Linked DNA regions of Homo sapiens: region 1 is linked to region 2. The links are contacts of gene promoters, found by promoter capture Hi-C in blood cells and fetal thymus (Javierre and others, 2016). All regions are on one chromosome and are shown on one strand. The core of a region is centred on a gene start or on the middle of the fragment in contact, and the rest is flanking DNA. Distances in the headings are between cores, read along the strand shown. Region 1 holds the start of ZNF23 (zinc finger protein 23). Region 2 holds the start of ZNF821 (zinc finger protein 821).

The links. The method cuts DNA at HindIII sites, captures the fragments that hold promoters and counts their contacts. A CHiCAGO score of 5 or more calls a contact.
Region 1: the fragment with the promoter of ZNF23 here is called in contact with the fragment with the promoter of ZNF821 in region 2 in 2 of 17 cell types (naive B cells and fetal thymus); the score reaches 5.5 in naive B cells.

The regions. Positions count from the first base shown.
Region 1 is chr16:71,460,642-71,464,144 of GRCh38, reverse strand. ZNF23 (zinc finger protein 23) reads left to right here and starts at 1,898. Exons shown (of 5, transcript NM_001381984.1): 1 at 1,898-1,935. It overlaps LOC124903709 (a long non-coding RNA gene), which reads right to left and starts at 1,833. Exons shown (of 2, transcript XR_007065105.1): 1 at 853-1,833; 2 at 1-212. RefSeq lists enhancers at 1,780-1,939, 2,210-2,299. The HindIII fragment of the contact is 7,082 bases long and covers 1-3,503 here.
Region 2 is chr16:71,882,311-71,886,291 of GRCh38, reverse strand. ZNF821 (zinc finger protein 821) reads left to right here and starts at 2,110. Exons shown (of 8, transcript NM_001201552.2): 1 at 2,110-2,384; 2 at 3,019-3,081. RefSeq lists enhancers at 744-1,244, 3,085-3,284 and silencers at 1,825-2,584, 2,605-2,724. The HindIII fragment of the contact is 5,845 bases long and covers 1-2,781 here.

The DNA of each region.
Region 1 (3,503 bases), core at 649-3,148, 420 kb after region 2:
TAGAGCTTTTGAAACTTGGTTTGTGCATTATTATCTCATTTTTCTGATATGTCTGAAGTAGGAGTAGGAGCTTTGTGGTTATTTAGAGAGCTTTATTTTCTCAACTGTAAAATTAGGCAATGGGTTTATGATGCAAACATTTGGGGCCAGCATTTATGTGATCTGATTCCTTCCTATTTCTTTCAACAAGTCCTCACTCCTGATTTCTGACCCTAGAAAGAAGTGAAAACCAGAACTTATTGACAAGAGCAACGTAATCCCCAGCTATTACTCTGCCCAATCATTTTCTTAATGAACTCATTTTGGAAAACAGTGAAGATCAGGGTCAGGGCAAGGCAGAGAAGGGCACCTGGCCATGGTCACTGTCAAGGTCCAAGGCATAAGACATATCCTACCCTTGGGGACACACAAAGTAGGCTTCTGCCTAAGAGTTAGGGCTGGAGCCTTTGGACCATTGTCAACAACAAATGTTTATTGCTCTCCTTCTTTCTGCCAGTTATTCTCTAGCTGAGGATGATGATGTTGAACAAGATAGATACAGTGTCTGTTCCCTGCAGCCACCAGAGAAGACAGACATATAAATAAACTATCACCATTAAGTAAGTACACAGTGCTGTGATGGCACATAAATGAGTGTCCTGCCTTATTCTGGGTGATGAGGGAAGGCTTGCTTCCCATGCAAAATGGGATTTGAGCTCACACTTCCAGTAACAGTCAAGATGGAGGGTAGGAATGGGAAGGGAAGGGCATTCTAGATTTAGAGAACAGCATTTTTAGCATGTAGGGCTGAGGTAGAGTCAGGGAATGAATGGGAGTGATAAGAAGCCACAGAGGCAAGTGGGAGCCAAATACCAGTCTCCAGTGCAGCAGCGTTGGATGGATCAGAGCTGGAAGGAAGAAAAGCCCACATTACCAGGGTTAGGGGGTGTGTGAGGGGGTGGGGATTTTAAGGGTCGTCCAATCCAGTGGCATTTAGTACTGTCTCCCTTCCCCCAGGGCTCATTTTGGAATTTTATGGTAGGTATTTTGTTATATTTGGTGTCAGTGGTAACATTGCTACTAGCGTTGTGGATAGGAGCCAGGATCCTGCAATGTACAGGACAGTCCTGCCCACTGAAAAAATGTTCACACTTTCAAATGTCTTGCTGAACATTCAGGTAGGTGAAAATTCTATTTCTAAATTATCTGAATCTAAACCTGTTTTCTGGATAAACATGTATTTTTGCACAGTTTTAACATACACTGATCTTCCAGGAATGTAATTATTGTATAATCAAGAGACGATTGTCCTGTGTTTCATTCAGAACTTCACGAAAACATGTTTGCCATTTTGGATCATAATTTTGTGACTTTTGCAACAATGTAAGTCACAGCTTTGTGGCTGTGGCACTCAGACAACGTCTATGTGTAAAGGCGACCACCTTATTAGGTCTCCTGCAGCAGCCAAGACCAAACACATTGAAGTATGTGTTTTTAAACGACAGATGACGGTCCTCTTTTTTTTCTCTTTCATTACACTTAAGGCATAACATTAGTTTTTAATATGTAGGTGTGTATGTTATGTATGATTTTCTAGGCCATTATATATGAATATCAGGTCAGGAGAATAAGATGGACATTACAAACTATTTGTTAGAAAAAGGGGGCATTGGGTGTGACAGCGCGCCATCCACTGGTCCATTTCCAAGACTCCCACACGTGGCTGCACCTGCAGCTTCACCTCCCCGGGCTGGGTCCCCGCTTGGCTCTGATTCTTACCTGCCCCATTCCCCAGGGGTAACAGTCACCGTGGGCCAGACCCGAGCTAGCCGACAGGGATGCGGCCACAGCTGGCCGGGCGTGACCACCACCGAGGCGCAGCGACCTTGCTCCTAGAGAGGCCCGGCCGCCTGGTGACGCACTTCCGGCAGCGCCGGGGAGCAGTCCGCTACGGAGGTGAGTGCAGGGCTCCGGGCGCTGTGTGCCGTGCCCTGTCCCCCAGGCTCTGGGTCCGGTTGAGACGCACTCCCACCCTGGGTGCTGCAGGGTCTCCCGTGGCCTACGCTGCCAGGAGGCCCAGGCTGGGAGAGGGAGCAGGGCGGCGGCCCGGGGTGCTCTTCCGCGCTCCTCGACTCCAGCTTTGGTCTTTGTGGCTCAATAGCTTGCGCCCATTGGAAGGGGAAACGCACGTTGCTGTCCCAGCCACGAGGCCCTGAGCATTTAGCACTTGGTCGACGGGGGAAGATGTGTCGGTGCAGCTAAAAGATGGAATATTTGCGGGCGTGAAGCGGCCCGAGGTGATACCACAAGTCTTTTGACATGCTGAGGTCTGGCAGGAACATTAACCTATGTGCATCCCGAGTATGGACCGTGTGCTCCCAGGCTCCTGACATAGGGTCATGAATTAGGGCCGAGTGGGAGCGCAGAGCCCCTCCCAGTCACCCGGCAGCAGAAGCAGCCCGGCTTTTGGAGGACATTGTCTCCTGGAGCAGTGTCAGTCCCAAAAGGTAACTCAGCCCTGCTTCTCTCGGCTCAGGGTTGACAGTGACCTGGGAATGACTTCTACAACGTAATTACGAATTCACTCAGTTTTAGAATATATTTAGTAGTCTCAGAATCGCTAATTCATACCCCCATGAAAAGCAAATTTACTACCTAAAGTACAGTACTTGGATACAGGTCTTTTTGTCTTTACTCTTATGGTATTTAGTCAAAATACTGTTTTCCAAAGTTGCTTACCCCTTTTCTTTCCTACCACTTAAGTGTGGTTATGTTCACTGTAGTATAGTTAAGCACATTGGCTGTTCTTTGTATTACATTTTGGGTCCTCAATTTCACCCCATCCTTGCTGGTTTATATATTTATTTAAAATATATATTTATATGTTACATATATAGTAGTAAACATCCATGAACACACCACCCAATTAAGAAAGAGAAGATTGCCAGTACTGCTGAATTTATCAATGTGTTCCTCCTCCTCAACCCAACTCCCAGCCTCCAACCCCTAGAGGTAACAGTTATATTGACTTTTGTGTTAATTGTAGCCCTGTTATTTTAAAAAATAATTACATATGCATGTATCTGTAAGCAATGTACTTAAATTTTTTTTTTGAGCTTCATATAAATGGCACCATTGTGTGTATAAGTCATCTGGGACTCGCATAATTCAATGTTAAGTTTCCAAATTCATTCTGTGTGTAGCTTCTGGGTAATGTTCCATTGTAAAAACTGTATGAAAATTTATCGATGTATTTTCAATGGACATGTGGGTTGTTTTCAGTGTTTTGTTATTAAAATGTGCTGATAATATTTTTGTACGTACTTCCTACATATGAGAGTTTCTCTAGTGTGTAAGTTTTTAAAATTAGGCACAAATGTTGAATTATGTTAAACATCTTTGGCATCTGTTGAGATGGACAGTGTGTTTATCTTTCTTTGATTTATTAATGTGAAAAATATACTAATTAGTATCTTCGTGGGATAATCCTACTTACTCATGATGTATTTAATGAACTATTGGAG
Region 2 (3,981 bases), core at 861-3,360:
AGTAGCTGGGACTATAGGTGCCAGCCACCATGCCTAACTTAAACTAATTACGTATTTAATAATTTTTTCATTATTTGGTTGTAACCTTGAATCACAACACCTCTGAGAAATTTTTAGAGCACAGGGAAGTCATAAGAATAGCATTATTATCATCTCATTTTATTTGGAAGTCAAGGAGATGGAATAAGCTGCCCAACATTACATAATAATAATGCATCCAAGAAATTTCACTGGAGGCAAACTTTACCTGTTTGCTACTTTTCTGTTGAAAATGTCAACTAAGTCAGCTTTAAAGTGACATAATAAAGCCATACTTGTATCCCTCAGTCCAAACTGATCAAGAATTACTGTTAAATATAAAAGCCAGTGTGTATTCTAGGTTGTATTCTTACACAAAATAGTACAAACACTTGCGGGTTGGATGATAATATTCCATTTTCTGTCTACTTGGAAACTAAGTTTTTAAATGAAATTAAAATGTTTCCTTGACTGAAGTTAAACAACAATAATTGCTATCTAAGTATCCTAATCACAATAAATAAATGAGTGAATGATGAATGAGCTATTTATCACAGAATTGTGAAGGACCAAGATCCCTCAATGTAATCATTCTATTACATTGAACACAAGATGCAGACAATGAGATCATCTCATAAAAGATTTAGGGGAAAGACAATTTGCAAGAATGTTCTATGCAAATACCAGGACTTGTCACTTTATCAGCAAATGACAGCATCCTCGTTAGCCCTGCCTTTGTGCAGCCAGTAATCACGAAAAACATTTGCATGATGCTTTTAGCCATTTGTTTTACTTAACTGGCACAACAACCCTCGGAGAGTAAAGGCCAGGAATTATTGCATCATTATCCATTTGACATCTTAGGAAGCAGAGGCTCAGAACAGGGAAGTGACTTGCCCAAAGTCAACAGGCTGGTGGGTGGCAGAGCTGGGGCTCAAAGCCAGATCTTCTAATACCAGATCTCATCTTCTTTCCTCTGCATTCCCTGCTTCTCCAGGTAAGCGATGCCAGGGCAGGCTCAGGCATTCTAGAAGAGAGGAAGAAAAGAAGGCAACAGGAACTAGGAGAGAGAAGGACGTGGACAGGAGGAGGTGTTTGACTAGAAGTGCGTCCAACCAGGCCGGGCACAGTGGCTTACGCCTGTAATCCCAGCACTTTGAGAGGCCGAGGCGGGAGGATCACCTGAGGTCAGGAGTTCGGGACCAGCCTGGCCAACATGGTGAAACCCCGTCTACTAAAAATACAAAAATTAGCTGGGCGTGGTGGTGCACGCCTGTAGTCCCAGCTACTCGGGAGGCTGAAGCACGAGAATCGCTTGAACCTGGGAGGCGCAGGTTGCAGTGAGCGAAGATCGCGCCATTGCATTGCAGCCTGGGTGACAGAGCGAGACTCTGTCTCAAAAAAAAAAAAAAAAAAAAGGTCCAACGGCTCTCCATTGCCCCCAAACATCCCTCAAGTGACAACAGTGCCACAAGTTCCCCTGCCCCTGGGTCTGCAGCCAATGTTATTTTATCAGTTGAGAATCATGTCAGAAAATTAAATACTCAAAAGAAATCTCAAGATTTCCCAGCTCTGAGGTTCTGACAGCTGAACTTGGCCCCTCCCACCAAGGCCCGTGGTCACATTCAAAGCCTCGGGAGCCGAAGCCACCGCGAAGCGTGGGGGAATGAGGCGAAGAGGGTTTGTGACGGTGGTGGGGATCCGGGCTAAGGAGAGGGGGTGCCTGCGGCGGAGCTGTGGTTGGGGGTTGTGGGTTTTGTGGCTGAACTCGATGGTGGGGTAAGAAACCAGGATCGGGGCTGGGTAGGGTGGCGTTTACACGTCCAGGAAGGTCTGGGGGAGCTGAGCGGCTGAGACAGCCAGAGAAAGACCCGGGAATGGGCGAGGCGGGGGGTTCCGGAGCCCTGGAACGCGGGCGAGCCCCTCTCGGGCGCCCGGGATTGGGCGCTCCCCGGAGCCCCTCCTCTCCAGAGCCCCTCTCCTCAGGCCCCGCCCACAACGCCAGGCGCGCGCCGGGCCGCGGGGAAGGGGACCTGGCCGGCGCGGGGGAGGGGGAGAGGGAGGCTCGTGCACGCGCCTCACTAGCTGCGGGTGCGCGAGCCGCGCGCTCCCGCCGCCCGCGTCGCCATCTTTTTCCCCCTCCGTCTGTCTGTCTGCTGTTGGCTTTGTCCGTCTGCAGCGCCGCCCCTCGGCTCCCCGCCACCGGCTCGGCTCGGCCCGGAGCCCCTTCCGCTCGCCGGGGCCCAGTCCCGGAGCGCCCCGGCCCGGCTGGCTTGGGCTGCGGTCCCGGGTCCATTGTCCGGCGGTCCGTCTGTCCGGAGGCGGGGCCCAGGGACCCAGAGCGCAGCGCAGCGCCGAGGCGCCGGGTAAAAAGACCCCCTGCCCTCCCTCCGGGTCCGGGCTGGGGATGCGGGCTCCTCGCCCCCTCGCGGCCGCCGGCTGTTGGTCCTTTTGTCTGCACTGGGGAGAGGGCCGGGGGCCAGCTCCGGCCTAGGGGGGCAGCCCGGGCTCACCCTCCCCGCTTCCAACCCCAATTCCTCCCCGGCCGCTCCTCCTGCTGCCCCTTGGCGCTCTCGGGCGCGGGGCGCGGGGTGCGGGGCCGGGGGGCTTTTGCGCGGGCCGCGGGCACCCCGCCTCCTCGGGCCCCGGCGGGGACGGCCCCGGCGTCTGACAGCCTTGGGTGGAGCTGGGGGAGGGGAGGATGGGCGTGGGCGTGCAGACCGGGGGGTATCAGTCCCCGCGTCTGGGTCTCGCAGAAAAGCTTCTAAATTTAGATTTCGGAGATTGTGTTGTCTAAGGGTTTGTCTGAGCCGCCTCGGAAGACCTCCGGCTCTTGTCAGGCTCTTGTCTGGTAATTCCTGGGAATTTACCTGGGCTCATGCTTGAAGAAGCAGAGGGACCATCTCGGCTGATTAGACACGCCCCAGACCCAACCCCAGGGGTCAGGTGAACAGCCAGGCGGCTAAGTGACCAGCTTTCTTGTCCTCTCCTTTTTGGCAGATACAGATCACTTGGATTCAGTCGAGTTTGCTTTGCTCCGTGGGAACTGCACCAGAGCTGGAGGTGGGAACGCACTCTCTTTTCATCAAGCTGAGATTTCACTCGTTTTTTTTCTTGCCAAAGTCTGTGGTGTGCCCTAGACGCTGCAACCTAATACCTGTGGGAGAGCAGAGACAGTGTTCAGGGGAGACGTTGCACCTTCCCGAGGACTCTTAACCTTGCTCTGAAGACAGACAGAACTGCTTTCCTTTTAAAATGGAATCCCTTTAGACCTGAATCTCACCGTTTACCTGTCTTCCCAGCCCATGTTCAGGCAGCTATCTATTTACATTTTTGGTTTGGTTTGGTTTCAGGTTTTGGCTTGGAAATTGAGGCAGTGTTAAAAGTAAAACAAAATGAGTGACCTTTAGGGCTGTATGTCTCTGGGTTTTATTAGCTTTAACTGCCTATAAAACAAGTCATCTGGCCTCTGAGATCTTGCTTTGTGGTCAAGAGTGTCCTTTCAGCGCCATTTATTTATTTACTTATTGATTTTCAACAGCCCATGACCCCACAGGCCTGTTTTTGTGGGTGTTTTTGTTATTATTTTCGTTTCGTTGTGTGGGAGGGGACTGTAATTGCTTATTTTTCTCTTGATCACTCAGGTGTGAAGTCCCATTGGGTACCATCTGGTCAGTTCCCCATTTGGCCACTAGGAGGATTATAAGATGCAGCGGGCATTGCTGATTTAAATACGCAGACACTCATCTCTGTCTTTTGACTTGGAGCTTTAATATTGAAATGTTGTCTGGTTCAAATTATTTGGCCTTCCTTCAGAAGGGACTTTATTACCTTTATCTTACAGTTTCAGTTTCTGATCTTGAAGGGAGAAAATATAAAAATTAGTCAAGATTCTGTTTTTTCTTCTATAATAGAGTATATATATATTTAGCCTCAATAGATTATCACATTAGAGGAGTATAT